Linked DNA regions of Homo sapiens: regions 2, 3, 4 and 5 are each linked to region 1. Evidence: promoter capture Hi-C in 16 types of primary human blood cells and fetal thymus (Javierre and others, 2016). All regions are on one chromosome and are shown on one strand. Each heading gives the region's core, a stretch centred on a gene start or on the middle of the fragment in contact. The rest is flanking DNA. Distances are from core to core; before and after follow the strand shown.

Region 1 (2,690 bases), core at 130-2,629:
GCAGCTGTTCCCCATGAGCTCCCTTCAACCAAAACCCAGAAAACTCTGAGAAGTTTAGGATCTCTTTGGTCCAACTCAAAGGTGGCTAGAGGCAGAGATCCTGGAAAGGAGGCAGAGGGTAGCACCTGTTAAAAGCTCACTGATTCTGGCTGGCTGCAATGGCTCACGCCAGTAACCCCTGCATTTTGGGAGGCCAAGGCAGGAGGATCGCTTGAGGCCAGAAGTTCAAGACCGAACTGAGCAAGACAATGTTTCTACAAAAAAAAAAAAAAAAAAAAAAGACGAAGAATAAGCCCACTGATTCATTCACACAGTGGAAAACTGCAGCTTGCAGACTGACATAGGAATCTCTGTGTGGTGGACCGGCCCCACACCACCAGACACAAGAGGCTGGGAAGATGAATATACTAAATACGCGGCACCCACCCCTAGCCCAACCAAAACTCTGGACAGAGCCGTTAGAGGTAGAACGTTATAGGAGGGCTGCAGGCTCTGCGTGGTTATTTAGCACTCACTTCTCTGGACTGTTAGCCCTCTCGGGTACTCCTGCGGATCTAGAGCAGCCGGTTCCCAGTCATCGGTGTTTCGTTCCAACCAGGAGATGAGGGCTGGTTTGGGACCTGCGCACCCTGGGGAAAGAGAACAAATCAGAAGGCCAGCTCCTAGATCACGCCGAGTAGTATCTCCCCGACGGCACCTCCTGCTAAGCCCCTGCCCACCTCCCCTGACAACCTGGTCGCCTGCCAGGACCGTGGCCTCCCTGCCTACACCCTCTCCGGCTCCTGCATCCCTTCGCGCCCCGCGGCAGCGGATGGGGCCGGCCTCACCGAGCGCGCCCAGGTGACCGTAGGTCTCCCGCATCACGTCCCGGTACAGGGCCCTCTGCGCGGGCCGCAGGCAGCCCCACTCCTCCGGGGAGAAGTACACGGCCACGTCCACGAACTTCAGAGCCCTCGGCCTCCTGCCCCTTTTCCGACTGGGTCTGGCCTTTCCTGGTCCCTGCGCAGGGAGCGGAGCCGAAGGTGGCGCCATGGGACCCGAGAAGCCGGCGCCACGGCCTTCCGTGTCCAGGCCTCGGCCCTCGGGCGCTGGCGGCCCCTGGGATCGAGGAGCCCCTGCCGGACCAGGGCTGAGCGTGGCCGGGGAGGCCCGGAGGGAATCGGAATTGGTCGCCCGCGGGGCTAACGGAAACCTTTTGCTGTTATTCAGGAAACTCCTGCCCGAACTTGGGTGAAAGGCACCGGAAGATGCCTTCGGGGAAAATGGCGGCGCTGCTACCGCACCGCCTTTGCCTGGAACACAGGCAGCTTCCAGCTATCGATTTTATTGACCGGAGCGCCATGCCGGCTTCCTAACCTCTTTGCCCTCAAGTGTAATGGCGCTGCGATTGGGCTTCACGCCGTCTTTTTTCCCCTCCCCAATACGCGCGTTCATTGGACGAGAGCCGAAGATCGAGCGTTCTGATTGGGTGCTAGCAAAGGCGGTCCGTTTGAACGAAGCCAAGAGCTGCATAAGGGCAGGAAGCTGGACTGCTAGGATCAGGCGACTACAAGGAGTTGTGAAGCGACTTGCACCGACCTGGGGGCAGCAAGAGGCCCCGGGGCTGCTTTCCGCTGTTCGACTCTGGCAGGCTCAGCCAATCACTGAAGGAGGGAACGATTTGAGCGATGGAGCCACTCTGGCCGAGTTAGAGCTGAGATTATCCTGAGTTCCTTTTACTGGTGTTCTCAGAGCATCCTTGACTTTGGAGAATGGTTATCTTCTTTGTTTGCCCTTTAGGGGAGGGAATTATGGTTAGCATTTCCTGGGGGCAGGCGCCATGCCCAGCATATTACATATTTCATCTTTATTATTTTTTATTTTTATTTTATTTATTTATTTTTGAGACAGAGTCGTGCTCTGTCGCCCAGGCTGGAGTGCAGTGGCGAAATCTCGGCTCACTGCAGCTTCCACCTCCCACGTTCAAGCGATTCTCCTGCCTCAGCCTCCCGAGTAAGTGAGATTACAGGCGCGTGCCACCACTCCTGACTAATATTCATATTTATTAGCAGAGATGGGGTTTCACCATGTTAGCCAGGCTGGTCTCGAACTTCTGACCTCAAGTGATTCACCCACCTCGGCCCCACGAAGTGCTAGGATTACAGGCGTGAGCCACTATGCCCGGCCTTATTTTTATTTTTTTGAGACAGGGTCTCACTCTGTTACCCGGGCGGGATGGAATGCAGTAGTGCAATCTCAGCTCACTGCAGCCTCTAACTCCTGGGCTCAAGCAATCGTCCTGCCTCAGCCTTCAGAGTAACTGGGACTACTGGTGTGCACTACCACGCCTGGCTAATTTTTTATGTTATTTGTTGAGTCAGGGTTTCCCTGTGTTGCCCAGGCTGGTCTCGAACCCTTAGGCTAAGTGATCCTCCTGCCTCGTCCTCCCAAAGGGCTGGGATTACTGGCATAAGCCACAGCACCGGAGCCATTAGTTATTCGCTTTTTTTTTTTGAGACTGGGTCTCATTCCGTTGCCCAGGCTGGAGTGAAGGCATGCACCCACAGTGCTCTGCTAATTTTTTGTATTTTTGGTAGAGACGGTGTTTCGCCATGTTTCCCAGGCTGGTCTCGAACTCCTGAGCTCAAGCAATCCGCCCACCTCGGTCTCCCAAAGTGCTGGGATTACAGGAGTGAGCCACCACACCCAGC
Region 2 (2,690 bases), core at 108-2,607, 240 kb before region 1:
CACGATGGTGTGCACCTATAATCCCAGCTACTCAGGAGGCTGAGGCATGAGAATTGCTTGTACCTGGGAGGCAGAGGTTGCAGTGGGCTGAGATCACACCACTGCACTCCAGCCTGGGCAACAAAGGGAGACTCCATCTCAAAAAACAAAACAAAAAAAAGTCCATCAGAGAACTCCCTAAGATGATCATCTTGCATACTACTAGAGAAGAGTATATACTGACATCTGGAGGAAGCTTGGTCTATAGAACAAAATTCCAAATGCTTTGGCATAGCATTTAAGGGTCCCTGGTGATCTTTTCCATAACCCCCAGGCAGGAAAACCCTGCCCCACTGCTGTAGCTCCCACCCCTCCAAAACCCAGCCCAAATGCAAGCTCTTCAAGGAGCCCATGACGTGCCCCCACACACAACCTGAGTCAAGTCTCCTTCCCAGGACAGTTCCTTTGACATGGCTTGACACTTAGTCCATTACAGATAGCTCTTCTACAAGTCCTGAAGGGCAAAAACCACTTTCGACTCAGTCTTGTATCCACCTAGCTAAAAGGTGGATCCTCCAGCCAATGTTTGCTGACTGACCCCCATGGTCCGGCCACCTTACCCATGCCCCCCTCGAGCAGCAAACATCTCGTGGAAAGGGAACTGGCGGTGCAGGTCCTTCTCAATCACATCCAGCCACTTGGGGTCCCCAGGAGCCCGTTCCAGCTCCTGCAGTGGGACAGTGGGGATTACCTCAGCATCTGGGGGAACTGATACCCCTTGCACAGACAGGGCCACATGTCCCCACACCTTGGAGCTGCACGCACCTCAAACTTTCCTGGGTTCTGCTCCAGAAGTTCCTTGCTATTAGACAGGTACTGCCAGGCTTTGGCTCTGAGAGAGGAGGGGATCCCCTTCCGGCAGCGCAGCTTCACCTAAGGCAAAGTGGCAGGAGGGGGACAGCTTCAAGGGCTGGCACAGCCTCCAACCTTTCCCCAGCAGTCCACAAACTCCCTGGATACTCCTCCGACATCCCATAGGCTTGATTCCACTGGACCTGGCCTGGACTTCTATTTTTAAAGCCATTCCCCCGCCAGGGCCCATCTATCCCCAGTGTGGTCCAGAGGGCAGATATTATCGGCTTCCTGGGCTTCCCTGGAGCACATGCTACCCCTCCCAACTTGTGCATTGCCCTGCCCACCATTCAGCCCTCAAACCTTCTGGAATCGCCGTGACAGCCACTTATCCCAGTTACTGAACATGTCCAGCCATTTGAGCTCCCGCTGCCGAGCCACGTCCACGGGAATGGAGCTCTCTCTGCAGGGTCGGGGGAGCACGGAAGGGGTCAGTAGCAATAGTGTAAAACCTGCATTGCAGGGGGAACTGAGGCAAGCCACCTCCCCAAGCTCAAACGAGAAACTGGATAGTCTGTGAGCTGCCAAACATCAGGATGTCTGGCCACTTGGGCATCCCAAGGCACACTGAAAGGGCTTCCTTCCCTGATGGATCTCTATTCAGAGGTCATATTTAAATCTCACTTCTGACACATCCAAATCTGGGGAGAGAGTATGGAGTATTTTAAAGCCACATTTTGCATTAGATCTGGATCCACGTCCTAGCTTTACCATTTATTCATTGTGTGACCTTGGGCAAATCACTTAATTTTGCTAAGCCCAATTTCCTCATCTGTAAGGTGGAGAAAGTAACAATATCTACCCGAAGGGGTTTATACGAAATAACACACAGCGAAGTGCCCATTAAGTAATACCTTACTATCCATAAAATAAAATACCCTAGAGGGCCAGGCATGGTAGCTCATGCCTGTAATCCCAGCACTTTGGGAAGCAGAGGCAAGAGGATCACTTGAGGCCAGGAGTTCAAGGCCAGCCTGGGCAACATAACGAGATTCTGTCTCTACAAAAAATAAAAATAAAATAATAAAATAGGCCGGGCATGGTGGCTCCCACCTGTAATCCCAGCACTTTGGGAGGCCGAGGCAGGCGGATGACTTGAGGTCAGGAGTTTGAGACCAGCCTGGACAACATGGTAAAACCCTGTCTCTACTATAAATACAAAAATTAGCCAGGCATGGTGGCACGTGCTTGAAATCCCAGCTATTCGCGAAGCTGAGGCATGAGAATCGCTTGAACCCGGGAGGCGGAGGGTGCAGTGAGTCAAGATTGTGCCACTGCACTCCAGCCCAGATGACAGAGCGAGACTCCATCAAAAAAAAAAATAATAATAATAAAATAAAATACAGAACAAATGTACTTCTGTCTCTTTAGACGCAACCATCTGAGTTTTGTCCTATCAAATGTTTAAGATCCCTTGGGTCACCTGCAATTTACTCTACCTCCTCCTCCCTGAAATCACCCCAGGCAAATAAAGGACTCCCTGCCCTATTTACTCACTGTTCTGTCAGAGGTTCATACTCATGGTGCCCCATCATTCTTCAAACACTTACTTGTAGGAGCCAGTACTAGGAGGTGAGTAGAACGGAAGAAAGCTTGGGTCTTAAGAATCAAACCTACCTAAGTTCAAATTTCAGTTCTGTCTCTGAGACAATAGGGAGCTTTGTCAAGGGATGACCTGAGTCCCTTCCTCAATTATAAAAAGACACCACCGGGCCGGGCATGGTGGCTCATGCCTGTAATCCCAGCACTTTGGGAGGCGGAGGTGTCAGAAGTGAGAAGCGGATCACCTGAGGTCGAGA
Region 3 (2,690 bases), core at 104-2,603, 190 kb before region 1:
TTTTTTTTTTTTGAGACGGAGTCTTGCCGTCACCTAGGCTGGAGGCAGTGGTGCAATCTTGGCTCACTGCAACCTCCACCTCCCGGGTTCAAGCAGTTCCCTGCCTCAGCCTCCCGAGTAGCTGGGATTACAGGCGTCCGCCACCACGCCCAGCTAATTTTTGTATTTGTAGTAGAGACGGGGTTTCAACATCTTGGCTAGGCTGGGCTTGAACTCCTGACCTCGTGATCCACCTGCCTCGGCCTCCCAAAGTGCTGGTATTACAGGCGTGAGCCACTGCACCTGGCCTTGCTGTCCCTCTCTCTTCACCTGTCTCCCCATCTGTAAAATAGGGATGATGATAATTACCTCGTGGAGATCGAATATGGGAGAAGCTGACACTGTCTTGTCCTTAATATGCCCCAGGCACTTCATTTGGTCATGAATTAATTGCTTGGCCACAGTAGATACGCGACATCAGTTTTGCTGGGGTTTTGAGCGTTCTCTTTTCTAGGAAGGGAGCAATATGCCCTCAATACTCTTCACTGTTAGTCCAGAATGTTTTCCCTTCATGTGCCTCTTAGAAGGCATTTCTTTCCTTTTTCTGATTTTTATCTCTAAAAGGCCAGAGCTTGTGAAACTGGCTCATTTTCAGATTGTTTCATTTCAGACCTCAGAATAACATTTGGCTTTTACCCTTGCCTTTTTCTTCACTGCTTAAAAAATGATAGGTGTTTGCTATTCAAAGCTGATTAAGAGCCTGGACTTGGTCCTGGCCTGGCTTCCAGGATGCCCCTCTCCTGCTCTCCTCCCTCCCTGGCTTCTCCCCATCTTGCTGCCCTAGGTTCTGTCTGCCCATCCCCTGGATGATCTCATCCACTCATTCTCAAGGCTTTATAAACCATCTATAGGTTGACAGCTTCTCAATTAACATCTCCAGTCTAGGCCTCGCTTCTGAGCTCCAGATATGTCAAGAAGCCGTGACACCATCCAAAACAGATCTCCCCTCTCAACTTGCTCCTCCCACCGTCCTCATCTCTGTAAATGGCAACTCCACCTTTGCAGTTGCTAAGCTCAAAAACCTTGAAGTCATTTTGATCTCTTTTTCTTCACACCTCATATCTAATCTCTTATTAAATCTATTGTCTCACACTGCAAATAGATCCAGAAGCCAATCACTTCTCACCACCTCCACCATCCACCGTCCACTTCTGTCACCTGGGTATGAGCCACTATCTTCTCTTGCCAGGTGGCTGTAGTGGCCTCCTCACTGGGCTTCTGCTTCTGCTCTCTCCAACTCCTTCATTTGGTTTTCAACCCCAGTAGCCTGAGGGGAGCCTTTTTAAATGTGTAGGATATGGTCACTTCCCTGCTCAAAGCCCTCTGACATCTCCTCTTACAGGTCCCTGTCTCCTTTATAATAAAAGCCAGAGCCAGGCACAGTGGTATGTGCCTGTAACTCCAGCTACTCAGAAGGCTGAGTCAGGAGGGACTGCTTGAGCCAGGAGGTTCGGGACCAAGCCTGGGCCACGGCAAGACCCTGTCTCTTAAAAAAAAAAAAAAAAAAAAAAGCCAAATATAACAAATACAAGGCCCTATATGCCAAGAGATCTCCACCACTACATCCGTGACTCCCCCCATCATGCATTCTGCTTTAACCAATTTTTCTTGCCATTTCTGGAACAGCAGGCAACTCCCGCCTCTGCGCCCTGCCGTTCCCTCTGCAGTGCTCCTCAGAGGGCTATCCACGTAGCCTGCTCTGTCACCTCCTTTAAGTCTTTGCTCATGTTATCATATCGGTAAAGTGTCTTGACAACCCTGTTTAAATCTGTAGCATCCCCAATACCAGCATTCCTTATCCATTATTTCTGAAAGCAGGAATTTTTTAATGCTTTTTATTTAATGCGGAATCCCCGTGCCTAGAACAGTCTAGGACACTGCATGCCCTCAGTAAATATTGGTTGAATTAATAAAAATAGCTAGAACGCCACTGGGCTTTGTGATGTGTGCGTTACGCGCATTATCTCACTGGATGCGCACAGCCATCCTGGGAGGCAGCACCGTGGCCTTTCCTATTTCATAGATGGGGAACTGAGGCTCACAGAGGGAGCAGCCTGTGGAGACCCAGGTCTCTGGCTCCGGGGCCTGCCGCTAAGGGCTGACCTATCCCCCTCTCCCCGCAGGTCCCGGGCGAGGCGCCCGCGCCGTCCGCCGACCCGGCGCGTCCCCACGCGTGCCCCGACTGCGGCCGCGCCTTCGCGCGCCGCTCCACGCTGGCGAAGCACGCGCGCACGCACACGGGCGAACGGCCCTTCGGGTGCACCGAGTGCGGGCGGCGCTTCTCACAGAAGTCGGCGCTGACCAAACACGGCCGCACGCACACGGGCGAGCGGCCCTACGAGTGCCCCGAGTGCGACAAACGCTTCTCGGCCGCCTCGAACCTGCGGCAGCACCGGCGGCGGCACACGGGCGAGAAGCCGTACGCATGCGCGCACTGCGGCCGCCGCTTCGCGCAGAGCTCCAACTACGCACAGCACCTGCGCGTGCACACGGGCGAGAAGCCGTACGCGTGCCCGGACTGCGGACGCGCCTTTGGCGGCAGCTCGTGCCTGGCGCGCCACCGACGCACGCACACGGGCGAGCGGCCCTACGCTTGCGCCGACTGCGGCACGCGCTTCGCTCAGAGCTCGGCGCTGGCCAAGCACCGGCGC
Region 4 (2,690 bases), core at 68-2,567, 170 kb before region 1:
CTCACTCTGTTGCTCAAGCAATCCTTGCACCTCGGCCTCAGGCGCATGCCACCATGCCTGGCTAAACTTAATTTTCTATTTTTTTTGTAGAAATAGGATCTCACTGTATTGCCCAGGCTGGTCACAAACTCCTAGGCTCAAGTGATCCTCCTGCCTCGGCTTTCCAAAGTGCTGGAATTACAGGTGTGAGCCACCGCACCTGGCTGCTTTATTGTTTTTTAGCTTCCAATTTGAGGTTGTGAAGTCTGATGTCATGATGACATACAAAGGTGTGTCATTATTCCCACACCTTTGTATGTGATCATAGTGATCAGAAGCATGGGTTCTGGAGTCAGACCGCCTACAAGACTGACTATGCAAGCTTGGACAAATTTCTTATTCTCCCTATACCTCAGCTTCCTCATTTGCAAATTGGGGTTGTTAGAAGATTGGGTTAATACGTATAAAGCACTTACTTCCTGCACAGAATATGTGCTATATAAACATTTGCTTTCATTATTATTAGGATCTCTTCTTCATAACTGGCATTTTGAAATTTAATAAAATTAGCATGGATCTTTTAAAATGTACTGTGCTAGGAGTTCAAGAGGTATGTGGTTTACAACTTTTAAGTTCTAGAAAACTTGGATAATATTTTTTCTTCCATCTGCTTTACTGCCTTATTCTAGAACTCCGCTTAGATGTTGAACCTCCTGCCTCATTTGATCTTTATAGAATTTATTTTATTGTGCATCTTTTTGGGCTACTTTTTTTTTTTATTTTACTTCACGTTCTGGGATACATGTGCAGAACATGCAGGCCTGTTACACAGGTATACATGTGCTATGGTGGTTTGCTGCACCTATCAACCTGTCATCTAGGTTTTAAGCCCCGCATGCTTTAGCTGTTTGTCCTAATGCTCTCCCTCCCTTTGCCCCCAACCCCCAATGGGCCCTGGTGTGTGATGTTCCCCTCCCTGTGTCCATGTGTTCTCATTTGTTCAACTCCCACTTATGAGTGAGAACATGCAAGTGTTTGGTTTTCTGTTCCTGTGTTAGTTTGCTGAGAATGATGGCTTCCAGCTTCATCCATGTCCCTGCAAAGGACATGAACTCATTCTTTTTTATGGCGACATGGTCTACTTTCTTATTTATTTATTTTTGAGACAGAGTCTCGCTCTGTCACCCAGGCTGGAGTGCAGTGGCATAGTCTTGGCTCACTGCCAGCTCCACCTCCCGGGTTCACGCCGTTCTCCTGCCTCAGCCTCCCAAGTAGCTGGGACTACAGGTGCCTGCCACCACGCCCGGCTAATTTTTTGTATTTTTAGTAGAGACGGGGTTTCGCCGTGTTAGCCAGGATGGTCTTGATCTCCTGACCTCGTGATCCGCCTGCCTTGGCCTCCCAAAGTGCTGGGATTACAGGCGTGAGCCACCGCGCCCGGCTTATTTATTTTTTGAGACAGGATCTCACTGTGTCACCCAGGCTGGACTGCAGTGGTGACTGCAGTGGTGCAATCTTGGCTCACTACAGCCTCCATCTCCCAGGCTCAAGTGATCCTCCCACCCCAGCCTCCAGAGAAGCTGGGACTACAAGTGCACACCACCATGCCTGCTAATTTTTGTATTTTTTGTAGAGACAGGTTTTCGCCACGTTGCTCAGGTTGGTCTTGAACTCATGGGCTCAAGCCCACCTTGGCCTCCCAAAGTGCTGGGATTACAGGTGTGAGTAAGGTGCCTGGCCTTTTGGGGCTACTTTCTGATAAATTTCTGCAACTTTATGTCTCCTATTAGAAATTTTTTTTTTTTTTTTGGAGACAGAATTTTGCCTTGTCATCCAGGCTGGAGTGCAATGGCATGATCTTGGCTCACTGCATCCTCTGCCTCCTGGGTTCAAGTGATTTTCCTGCCTCAGCCTCCTGAGTAGCTGGGATTACAGGTTCATGCCATCAAGCCTGTCTAATTTTTATATTTTTATTAAAGATGGGGGTTTCACCATGTTGGCCAGGCTGGTCTCGAACTCCTGACCTCAGGTGATCCGCCCGCCTTGGCCTCCCAAAATGCTGGGATTACAGATGTGAGCCACTGCACCCAGCCCCCTATTAAAAATTTCAAGTTTTAGCTTTATCTTTATATTCTAAGTGGCTGGTTCTCTTAAGTATTGCTTTGCGGATATTTTTTATCTTTTTTCCTACTCCCTGTATTGTCCCTCTGAGTTTCCTTTTTCTGTTTAAGTTGGAGGCTCTCCTCACATGCTTGGTGATCCTTGACTGCTCATATTTAAGAATGAGGCATTAAAAAGCTTAACATTAGCTGGGCGCGGTGGCTCATGCCTGTAATCCCAGCACTTCAGGAGGCTGAGGCGGGTAAATTGCTTCAGGTTAGGAGTTGGAGACCAGCCTGGCCAACATGGTGAAACCACATTTTCTACTAAAAACACAAAATTCACCGGGCGTGGTGGTGCACACCTGTAATCTCAGCTACTCGGGAGGCTGAGGCAGAAGAATCGCTTGAACCTGGGAGGCGGAGGTTGCAGTGAGCTGAGATCGAACCACTGCACTCCAGCCTGGGCAACAGAGTGAGACTTTGTCCGGAAAAAAAAAAAAAAAAGCTTAACATCATTCAATAAAGGCTTTCACCTAGGAGGCCTTGTGGTAGAGTGATTTTGGGCTTTTATTTATTTTTTTTGAGACAGGGTTTCACTCCCGTCGCCCA
Region 5 (2,690 bases), core at 50-2,549, 130 kb before region 1:
GCAGTGAGCCATGATTGTCCCACTGCACTCCAGCCTGGGTGATGGGAGTGAGACCTGAAAAGAAAGAAAGCAAGGAAAGAAAGCAAGAAAGCAAAGAAAGGAAAGAAAGAAAGGACGGAGGGAGGGAGGGAAGGAAGGAAGGGGAGAGGAGGAGAGAGAGATAGGAAGGAAGGAAGAAGAAAAAGAAAGATGAAGGAAGGAAGGAGAAGGAAGGAAGGAAAGAAAGAAAAGGCTGGGTGCAGTGGCTCACTCCTGTAATCCCAGCACTTTGGGAGGCCGAGGTGGGCAGACACAAGGTCAGGAGTTTGAGACCATCCTGGCCAATATGGTGAAACCCCGTCTCTACTAAAAGTACAAAAATTAACTGGGCGTGGTGGTGGGCACCTGTAGTCCCAGCTACTGAGGAGGTTGAGGCAGGAGAATCACTTGAACCCGGGAAGCAGAGGTTGCAGTGAGCCAAGATCGCACCACTGCACTCCAGACTGGGTGACAAAGCGAGACTCCGTCAAAAAAAAAAAAGAAAGAAAGAAAAAGAAAGAAAGTGGGGGGCGGAGGGGAGGGGAGAGGAAGGGAAAAAGAAAGAAAGAGGCATGGCCGGGCGCGGTGGCTCATGCCTGTAATCCCAGCACTTTGGGAGGCCGAGGCAGGCAGATCACGAGGTTGGGAGATCAAGACCATCCTGGCTAACACGGTGAAACCCCGTCTCTGCTAAAAATACAAAAAATTAGCCGGGTGTAGTGGCGGGTGCCTGTAGTCCCAGCTACTCAGAAGGCTGAGGCAGGAGAATGGCGTGAACCCGGGAGGCGAAGCTTGCAGTGAGCCGAGATCATGCCATGCAGTCCAGCCTAGGCGATAGAGCGAAGACTCCATCTCAAAAAAAAAAAAAAAAAAGAAAGAAAGAAAGAGGCACTGTATATTCTGGGAATCTTGATAATTTGATTTGGCTGGAACACAGAAAAAGAGATTGGGACTAGGAGAAGATGGACCTGGAAATGTGGGGTCGTGCCCAGTGTAAGCCCAGATAAGGAGTCCAGACTCACCACCAGTCCTACAGGCGGTGAGCATCCATTGGCATAGAGCATTGGTAGGATGGGAGGGATGGACAGTAGAGACTGTGGAGGCGGACATTCCTTGCCTTGGTAACCAGTTGGATAGAGGAAGTGAGAAAGAGGACAAGGACTCTGAACGTTCCTAGTTTTGGTTGATGTTGCCCAAAAGACACATAGCAAATAGGAGACCCAAATCTTTGGCCTTTGCTTTCTTTAGGCCTGTGACCCTGGGCTGTCTCGAACGTGTGACCAGAACACCTATCTGAGTGGCCTGTGTTACCTCTTCCGCCAGAATCTGCAGGGTCCCATGCTGCAGGGGCGCCCTGGTTTTCAGGGTAAGGAACTGGGGACTCATTGGGTAAAAATACCTCCAAATGGCTGTCCCTAGAGAGAACCAGCATGGGCAGGTCAAACACCAGAGATGCTTCACTGGGTCCCTTGCGTCTGGCTTCTGCAGAATGTATCAAGGGCAACGTAGACCTGGTATTTCTGTTTGATGGTTCGATGAGCTTGCAGCCAGATGAATTTCAGAAAATTCTGGACTTCATGAAGGATGTGATGAAGAAACTCAGCAACACTTCGTACCAGGTAAAAAAGTTAGTTAGGATTCTTGGTTGCATGCAATAGATGCCTACCTGAACTGACTTAAACCATGAAAGGAAATGTTAGTATGTGGAATCCTCAGAGCCTATGGGCATGGCTATAACTGGGCCTCTGGAAGGGACAAGAACCAGGGAGTAGAAAGCTTCTAGGAGTCTCTCTAGTTCTCATTTCCTTTTTTTTTTTTTTTTTTTTTTTTTTTTTGAGATGGAGTTTTGCTCTTGTTGCCCAGGCTGGAGTGCAATGGCACAATCTCGACTCACTGCCTCCCAGGTTCAAGCAAGTCACCTGCCTCAGCCTCCCAAGTAGCTGGTATTACAGGCAACTGCCACTACACCCAGCTGATTTTTGTATTTTTAGTAGAGATGGTGTTTCACCATGTTGCCAGGCTGGTCTTGAACTCCTGACCTTGTGATCTGCCCACCTTGGCCTCCCAAAGTGCTGGGATTACAGGCGTGAGCCACCGTGCACAGCCATTTTTTCTTTTTGAGACAGGGTCTCACTGTGTCCCCAAGGCTGGAATCATGGTGGCACGATCATAGCTCACTGTAGCCTCAAACTCCTGGGCTCAAATGATCCTCCCAACTAGCTGGGACTACCCATGTGCACCACTGTGCGTGGCTAATTTTTAAATTTTCTGTAGAGATGGTTTATCATTGTGTTGCCCAGACTGGTCCCAAACTCCTGGATCTCTCAAGAGATCCTCCTGCCTTGGCCTCCCAAAGTGCTGGGATTACAGGCATGAGCCACTGTGCCCAGCTAGTTCTCATTTCTGTTTCTTTTTGCGTCTTTGCTTCCTTCTTCTCTTTTCTCAGTCTCCGTAGACTGGCTCCCTTAGCGCCTTTAGACCACATAGACCTATGGAAAGCTCCTAAGTTCATGTGTTAAAGTTCCAAGAGGGTTTTTTACCTTCCCCTCAACCAACACCTCCCTTTGCAAATTTCCAGTTCTCAGAGAAGAGGTTCTGGCTGGCGTAGCTTCAGTCAGGTGTTGATCCCCGGCCCAGCCAACTGTATCTAGTTAAGCAGCGTCACTCAGCAG

The links. Contacts are between HindIII fragments. The CHiCAGO score rates a contact against its expected background, and 5 or more counts as called.
Region 2: a contact is called between a fragment that was not itself captured here and the fragment with the promoter of ZNF689 in region 1, in 3 of 17 cell types (M2 macrophages, non-activated CD4 T cells and erythroblasts). The highest score is 11.3, in M2 macrophages.
Region 3: a contact is called between a fragment that was not itself captured here and the fragment with the promoter of ZNF689 in region 1, in 16 of 17 cell types (M2 macrophages, fetal thymus, erythroblasts and 13 more). The highest score is 15.4, in M2 macrophages.
Region 4: a fragment that was not itself captured here is called in contact with the fragment with the promoter of ZNF689 in region 1 in 16 of 17 cell types (erythroblasts, M2 macrophages, endothelial precursors and 13 more); the score reaches 15.5 in erythroblasts.
Region 5: a contact is called between a fragment that was not itself captured here and the fragment with the promoter of ZNF689 in region 1, in 3 of 17 cell types (erythroblasts, M1 macrophages and M2 macrophages). The highest score is 6.3, in erythroblasts.

The regions. Positions count from the first base shown.
Region 1 is chr16:30,609,010-30,611,699 of GRCh38, forward strand. It overlaps ZNF689 (zinc finger protein 689), which reads right to left and starts at 1,380. Exons shown (of 3, transcript NM_138447.3): 1 at 828-1,380; 2 at 516-629. The coding sequence starts at 1,032. LOC124903678 (a long non-coding RNA gene) reads left to right here and starts at 1,465. Exons shown (of 2, transcript XR_007065051.1): 1 at 1,465-1,754. RefSeq lists a silencer at 1,070-1,119 and an enhancer at 1,407-2,376. The HindIII fragment of the contact is 6,999 bases long and covers 1-2,690 here.
Region 2 is chr16:30,364,301-30,366,990 of GRCh38, forward strand. It overlaps TBC1D10B (TBC1 domain family member 10B), which reads right to left. Exons shown (of 9, transcript NM_015527.4): 2 at 1,195-1,294; 3 at 805-912; 4 at 600-706. Among named protein-coding and RNA genes, the nearest start is that of TBC1D10B, 4.8 kb to the right of the region's middle. The HindIII fragment of the contact is 2,248 bases long and covers 234-2,481 here.
Region 3 is chr16:30,415,393-30,418,082 of GRCh38, forward strand. It overlaps ZNF771 (zinc finger protein 771), which reads left to right. Exons shown (of 3, transcript NM_001142305.2): 3 at 2,163-2,690. Among named protein-coding and RNA genes, the nearest start is that of SNORA80C, 3.0 kb to the right of the region's middle. RefSeq lists silencers at 2,150-2,239, 2,520-2,599, 2,630-2,679. The HindIII fragment of the contact is 4,394 bases long and covers 1-2,690 here.
Region 4 is chr16:30,439,811-30,442,500 of GRCh38, forward strand. No RefSeq gene overlaps it. Among named protein-coding and RNA genes, the nearest start is that of SEPHS2, 4.7 kb to the right of the region's middle. RefSeq lists an enhancer at 2,518-2,690. The HindIII fragment of the contact is 1,916 bases long and covers 360-2,275 here.
Region 5 is chr16:30,477,825-30,480,514 of GRCh38, forward strand. ITGAL (integrin subunit alpha L) reads left to right here. Exons shown (of 31, transcript NM_002209.3): 5 at 1,267-1,384; 6 at 1,507-1,637. Among named protein-coding and RNA genes, the nearest start is that of ITGAL, 6.4 kb to the left of the region's middle. The HindIII fragment of the contact is 985 bases long and covers 808-1,792 here.